2 separate regions of the Homo sapiens genome follow, and region 1 is linked to region 2. The links are contacts of gene promoters, found by promoter capture Hi-C in blood cells and fetal thymus (Javierre and others, 2016). All regions are on one chromosome and are shown on one strand. The core of a region is centred on a gene start or on the middle of the fragment in contact, and the rest is flanking DNA. Distances in the headings are between cores, read along the strand shown. Region 1 overlaps OPA3 (outer mitochondrial membrane lipid metabolism regulator OPA3). Region 2 holds the start of VASP (vasodilator stimulated phosphoprotein).

What was found. The method cuts DNA at HindIII sites, captures the fragments that hold promoters and counts their contacts. A CHiCAGO score of 5 or more calls a contact.
Region 1: a fragment that was not itself captured here is called in contact with the fragment with the promoter of VASP in region 2 in 10 of 17 cell types (naive CD4 T cells, naive CD8 T cells, total CD8 T cells and 7 more); the score reaches 12.1 in naive CD4 T cells.

What each region holds. Positions count from the first base shown.
Region 1 is chr19:45,555,671-45,558,620 of GRCh38, forward strand. All of the region lies in intron 1 of OPA3 (outer mitochondrial membrane lipid metabolism regulator OPA3), which reads right to left. Among named protein-coding and RNA genes, the nearest start is that of OPA3, 28 kb to the right of the region's middle. RefSeq lists an enhancer at 2,359-2,859. The HindIII fragment of the contact is 1,184 bases long and covers 1,074-2,257 here.
Region 2 is chr19:45,505,930-45,508,963 of GRCh38, forward strand. It overlaps VASP (vasodilator stimulated phosphoprotein), which reads left to right and starts at 1,550. Exons shown (of 13, transcript NM_003370.4): 1 at 1,550-1,847. The coding sequence starts at 1,843. LOC107985314 (a long non-coding RNA gene) reads right to left here and starts at 1,445. Exons shown (of 2, transcript XR_007067269.1): 1 at 756-1,445. RefSeq lists silencers at 611-860, 891-1,020, 1,701-1,880, 2,475-2,674 and enhancers at 1,215-1,999, 1,281-1,550. The HindIII fragment of the contact is 2,487 bases long and covers 315-2,801 here.

The DNA.
Region 1 (2,950 bases), core at 416-2,915, 50 kb after region 2:
TTAGTAGAGATGGGGTTTCACCGTGTTAGCCAGGATGGTCTCGATCTCCTGACCTCGTGATCCACCCACCTCGGCCTCCCAAAGTGTTGGGATTACAGGCGTGAGCCACCGTGCCTAGTCATTTTTGTATTTTTTTTAAAATAGAGATGGGGTTTATCAGTATGTTGCCTAGGCTGGTCTTGAACTCCTGGGCTCAAGTGATCTGGCTGCCTCGGCCTCCCAAAGTGCTGGGATTGCAATCGTGAGCCACTATGCCTGGCCTATATATATATATCTTTAAACCAGACATTGGTAGGCATCAAATCATTATTGTATGCGAACTGCAATAAATATGAAGGGAAGGATGCACCAGCTGTTTGAACATGTCAGTATCATAACACACCAGAACCAGAAATTCCATCCTTCACAACTACTTAAGGTTAATGAAGAAAAGTTTTACTTGTCAACTTGAAAATGCACTAGAGGGCACACAATTTATTTTTTCTTTTTCTGAGACAGGATCTCGTTCTGTTGCCCAGGCTGGAGTGCTGTGGAACAATCTCAGCTCACTGCAACCTCTGCCTCCCAGGCTCGAGTCATCTTCCCACCTCAGCCTCCTGAGTAGCTAGGACAACAGGTGCATGCCACCATGCCTGGCTAATTTTATTTTTTTTGGGTAGAGATGGGGTCTTGCCATATTCCATCTTATTTATTTATTTATTTAACAGATGGGCTCTCACTCTGTGGTCCAGGATGGAAGGCAGCGGCTCCATCACAGTTCACTGCAACCTCGAACACCTAGACTCAAGCAATTCTCCTGCCTCAGCCTCTGGAGCCGCTAGAACTATAGATGCCCCACCATGCCTGGCTGTTTTTAAATTGTTTTTTGGTAGAGACTGGGTCTTGCTATGTTGCCAAAGCAGGTCTTGAACTCCTGGGCTCAAGCAATCATCCTGCCTCAGCCTCCCAAAGTACTGGGACGACAGGAGACAGCCACTGAGCCCAGCCACTACACATTTTTCATCTTCAAAGGGGTGGGGTGGCAGGAAGGCTTGGGGAGCTCTGCTGGAGCTGGAGGGAAGACCTGAGGTGCAAGCTTAGGGCCCGAGAAGTCACTGTCACTGTCACTGTCAGCTGCTGCAGTTACTGTTACAGCTGTGACTTAGGCCCTGGGCTTGTGGGTTCCTGGGGTCCAGGCTGTGGAGACCCCTCCCACACTGAGGTCTTAGGGTCAGGCTGATCTGGGGTCCCCCCGGGGCTCCGCCACCTGCTGCCTGAGCAATGACAGCCTGCCCCAAGGCCCCTCTGTAACACAGGAAGGACAGCATCATCCTGACAATGACACTCGCCAGACCTGGTGGTGGCCCAGAGCTGGGCCCGTAACTGTCACTGCCTCCTTCATGTCAGGGACACCTAGCACAGTGGCCAGAGAGTGGTGAGGGGTGAGGGTTCCAGATCCTCTAGCCTTCCTGGGTGAGGTTCCCAGCGTGGAAATGCAAGTGTCTCAGTGCAGACCAAGCATGGGGATCTGGGCCAGCAGGTGGGTCTAGGTGTGCCAATGGGAGTGGGCACATACCCAGGCCACAGGAAATCAAATCAAGAGGGTGTGTGTGTGTGTGCACGCGTGTGTGCACGCAGGCATGGGCTTTCAGGGCTTTCAGAGCAGGGGCCGACGGCATTCTCCCTCGGGCCAGCGGTCAGATGTGGGGTTCAGGAAACAAGGCCCAGGTGGGGATGAATCACAGGGCTGTGATTCTAGAAGGGACAGCTGTGAGGGGCCGGGACAGGCTAAGCTGGAGGACTCACCAGACTTGCGGGGGTCAACACGCTCCAGATGTCTCCTAGACCTCTCACACTCAGCACATCCAAACCTGAACCCAGCACCTGGCCCCACACCTGTCCCCTGGCTAGAGACGGGGGCCTCAGCCCAGCTGTTCCCCTTCTCCCACAGCCTCTCAGCTGCGTGTCGGGTCCATTCTGCATCTTGAACATCTCTCCCAGTGGATTCCCTTCTGCTGTCCTGGTCCAGGATCCATCCCAGCTCTGACCAACGTTCTCCTCCCTGACCTCCTGAATAGGAGGAATACAGCCTGTCTATCCCCTTCTGAGTGCCTATCACAACCAGGAATAGTGGCTATCCAGTTACCTGTCTGCAATCAGTCTCCCCACTGTCCTGTAAGCCTCACAAGGGTGGGGCCCAGGGCTGTCACAGTCACTGCTGTGTCCCCAGCACTGCCCAGTGCCAGGCCAGGCACACGCATGATGCTCATTAGATCTAAGCTTAACACATAAGTGAGTCCCGCCTCCAGCCTCCTTCCCACCTGCCGGCCCCAGCCTCACCCCTCTGCAATTGTCCCCCACGCAGCAATCAGAAGGAATTGGTGAGAAGAAAAGAACAAACTGGCTGGGCGCGGTAGCTCAGGCCTTTAATCCCAGCGCTTTGGGAGGCTGAGACAGGCAGATCATGAGGTAAGGAGTTCAAGACCAGCCTGGCCAACATGGTGAAACCCATCTCCAGTAAAAATACAAAAAATTAGCGGGGCGTGGTGGGAGGCCCCTGTAATCCCACCTACTCGGGAGGCTGAGACAGGAGAATCGCTTGAACCCAGGAGGTGGAGGTTGCCGTGAGCCAAGACCACGCCACTGCACTCCAGCCTGGGCAACAAGAGCAAGACTGTCTCAAAAAAAGAAAAGAAAAGAACAAACCTACCATTCCCCGTCGCCCCACCCCCAACTCCTGCCGCAAATAAAAGTAACACATGGCAAGAAAACAAAGTACTCAAACTATAAAATGTAAAGCCAAAGTCCCCTCCTCAGAGGAACCCTCAACTACTGCGGTCGCCAGCCTGTTTTCCCCTAGCGCCATCTCCTGGACAGCCCATAGTAAGCATACCTCACTCATTTCTGAGCTCTTCAACTGGAGGTTTGTTCAGATCTACGCCATCGTTACCTACTCATAATCCAGCCCCAC
Region 2 (3,034 bases), core at 300-2,799:
AAATACAAAAATTAGTTGGGCTTGGTGGCCCGTGCCTGTAATCCCAGCTACTTTAGGAGGGTGAGGCAGGAGAATTGCTTGAACCCAGGAGGGGGAGGTTGCAGTAAGCGGGGATCGAGCCAGCGCCCTCCAGCCTGGGTGACAGCGAGAGACTACATCTCAAAAAAAAAAAAAGAAAAAAAGAAATTTAGTCTACCCATTCTCCCAGACAACTCAGCCTGAGGAAACACACTGAGAAACAATGATAACCTCCGAGGAACAGGGTTCAAGGTCTCCCAGAGTGGGGTGGAGAAGGGGAGGGGAATTAATGTCAAAGCTTGGCCTGGAAGGATGACGTGCTCCCCAGGTAAAGGAGGTCAGGACAACATCAACATCCGGACATGGGACTCGGCTTGGACATACGCTGGAAAAGTGGATTCTCTCACATAGTCAGCTGGCCCTGAGAATTGTTGGTTTTACACTCAGACCTTGGTGGCTTTCCGGGTTCTGGGGGCTCAGGCAAGAGGGCCATAGGCCAGATTCATTCCCTGTCTCCAGGCCTCAGTTTACCCGTGTGTAAATGTGGAACTAACTGATTTCCCAGGGCTCGGGCGCCTCACCCGGGCCAGGTGGCGCTCTACCCAAGGGGCGCGACCAAATCAGTGACGTCACTCGGGGCGGGGCCGGCAAGACACGCTGCGGAAGCCTCAGAGGGTGTCTGGGCTCAGCCCGGAGCCGGCGTGTGGGGGCGGGGGCTCCCGGGAGGGTCTCCTCACCTCCGGGCCCTCCTGAGGGCTGGGATGATCCTGCTGTCCTCCGCAGGCGAAACTGAGTCAGAGCGGGGCGTGCGTGGGCCGGAGGCTTTACACACCAAAGAAGCCGGCGCCTCCTGCCCACCCCGGGCGAATGCCGGGCCCCCCACTCCCGCACTCCTCGCCAGTCCCCACCTCCACCCCACCCCACCCCCGACCCTGCGGCTGTGAGTCAGCGACCGACCGCGCCCCCTTGGCCCACTTCCTCCTCACCTTCCCGGGGCGGGCGGGGTGGGGTGAGAGGGGTTGGGCCCTACTCCCCCGACTTCCACTCCCGTGCGGGTGGGGGTCTCGCCCCCTTAGTAACCTCTCCGAAATTGACAGAAGAGAAACGCTGGGGAGGGGCGGTGTTCCGAAGATGGGATTTCAGGGAGAAAATCTGAGACCACTTGCTTAACTTGAGGGTCCTCCTCGACCCCCAAAATTGAGCGGAGTACGAGATGGAGAAGTCGATGGGGAAAGAAATCGCGCCCCTTCCGAGACCCTCCTCAGAATTCCCACAGTGGGAGCGAACTAGGAAGCAAGGGAGGTCCCCTTCCCCTTCACCAACTTGCCCCTCAGGTGGGGGTGATTCCCAGGGTGCACCCCTGGGCTACAACATTGGGGAGAGGAGCGAGATCGCGGAAGCCGAGGGTGCAGAGTTGCCCTTTTAAGCGCCCTCCACCCCCTCGCCTGGAGGCGCACGCGGCCCCTTTAAGGCGCGGGGCATTGTGGGTGCGGGGAGTGGAATTTTGGAACGAAATGTAACGAAGAGAAGTACAGTAGTAAGAGTAACACTGTAGCCGCCACCGGCAAGGGGTGCGCGCTGGGGAGCGGACGCTGCATCCCCTTTCTGCTGCAGGAACCTCTCATCAGACCGCCTGAGGGAAGCGGCGCCCGGAGACCCGCCCCGGCCCGGTCCACATTCTCCCCAGGAAGCCGGACTCTATGGGGCGGGACCCTGGGGGAGCCTGAGCCGAGCCCGGAGCCAGCCCCGAACCCCTGAACCTCCAGCCAGGGGCGCCCCGGGAGCAGCCAGCCCGTGGGCGAGCCGCCCGCCCGCCGAGCAGCCATGAGGTGAGCCGGACCTGCCCCCCGACCCGTCCCCGCCCGGGCGGGCTCCGCGCCCCGCCTTTGTCCCCCTCCCCCCCAGCTAGCTCCGGGCTGGAATTTGGGGACAGATCCTTGGGAGCCTCGGATTTGAGCTGAATCCCCTTGGACGCGCCCCAGAACCGTCGATCACTTCTCCACGACTGACTCCCCAAGCTCGGGGGGTGGTGGCGGTGAGGTTCTCCTGGGAGCCCTCAAGATTTGGGGGCGCTCGGAGGACTCCCGAATTGTTAAGACTTTTTTTAGAGGACCTCAAAGTTGGCAGCGACTCCCCGCAGGGATGCCAGGATTGAGGCAGGGCTCAGACTCTCCTCCCCCTCCCCCCAGACTTCAGCTCGAGGTCCGGGAAGGATTGTGGGGGACCGATTTGGGATACCCTGGGACTTGGAAGAGAGACTGAGACTCAGACCCTGGGTGTGCAGGTCCCCCGTTTACTTGGTGCTGGAAAAAGTCTCCCCAAGTGGGACCGCGCTCCATAACTTCGGGGGTACTTCTTAATCCCCTGGATTTTGGGGGTCACTTAGGTCTTCCTGTGGAGGAGGCTGGTGTGAACCGATCCAGGGACCTGGACGCAGCCTCCAGAGTCTGGTGGGACCCCCCCCTTCCCCGTCGCTCCGCACACAATCTGCTTAACTGGCCGTGCCTAGGACCGAGCGGGCGCTCGGAGCAGAGGGCGGCTCCCCGCCTCCGGCCATAAGGGCGGCCCGGCTCCCCCACCTGCGCGGCCCTGGAGAGGGAGGGGGCGCGGCAGCTGGGGGAAGGGGGCCTTTGTCTTCCTGACTCACCTGTCGAGACAGCTGGTGTGGGGGGCGGGCACCAAGCGCTGTAGGCCGGCTGCCTTCCCCACCACGGCCCCTCCCCCTTTGCTCACCGTCCCCCTATCCACCCGGAGCCTTGGGGTTGGAGGAGGGGGAGCTGGAAAGCTTCAAGGTCATAGCCCTCTTCCCTAGGGACCCAGGCTTCCCAGATAATTCCAGCTATCTTCCCAGGAATTTAATCCTGGGGGTGGCGGCCCAAGGGACCCAGGGATTTGGTCTGGCCGGGGCCTCCCCCGAACTCCTGGGCTCACCTGAGGGCGGGGCCAGTGTGGGCAGGGGGGCCCAACCATCCCCCCTATTCTTCCCTCCCCTGGCCCCCCATAATCTCTCCCATGG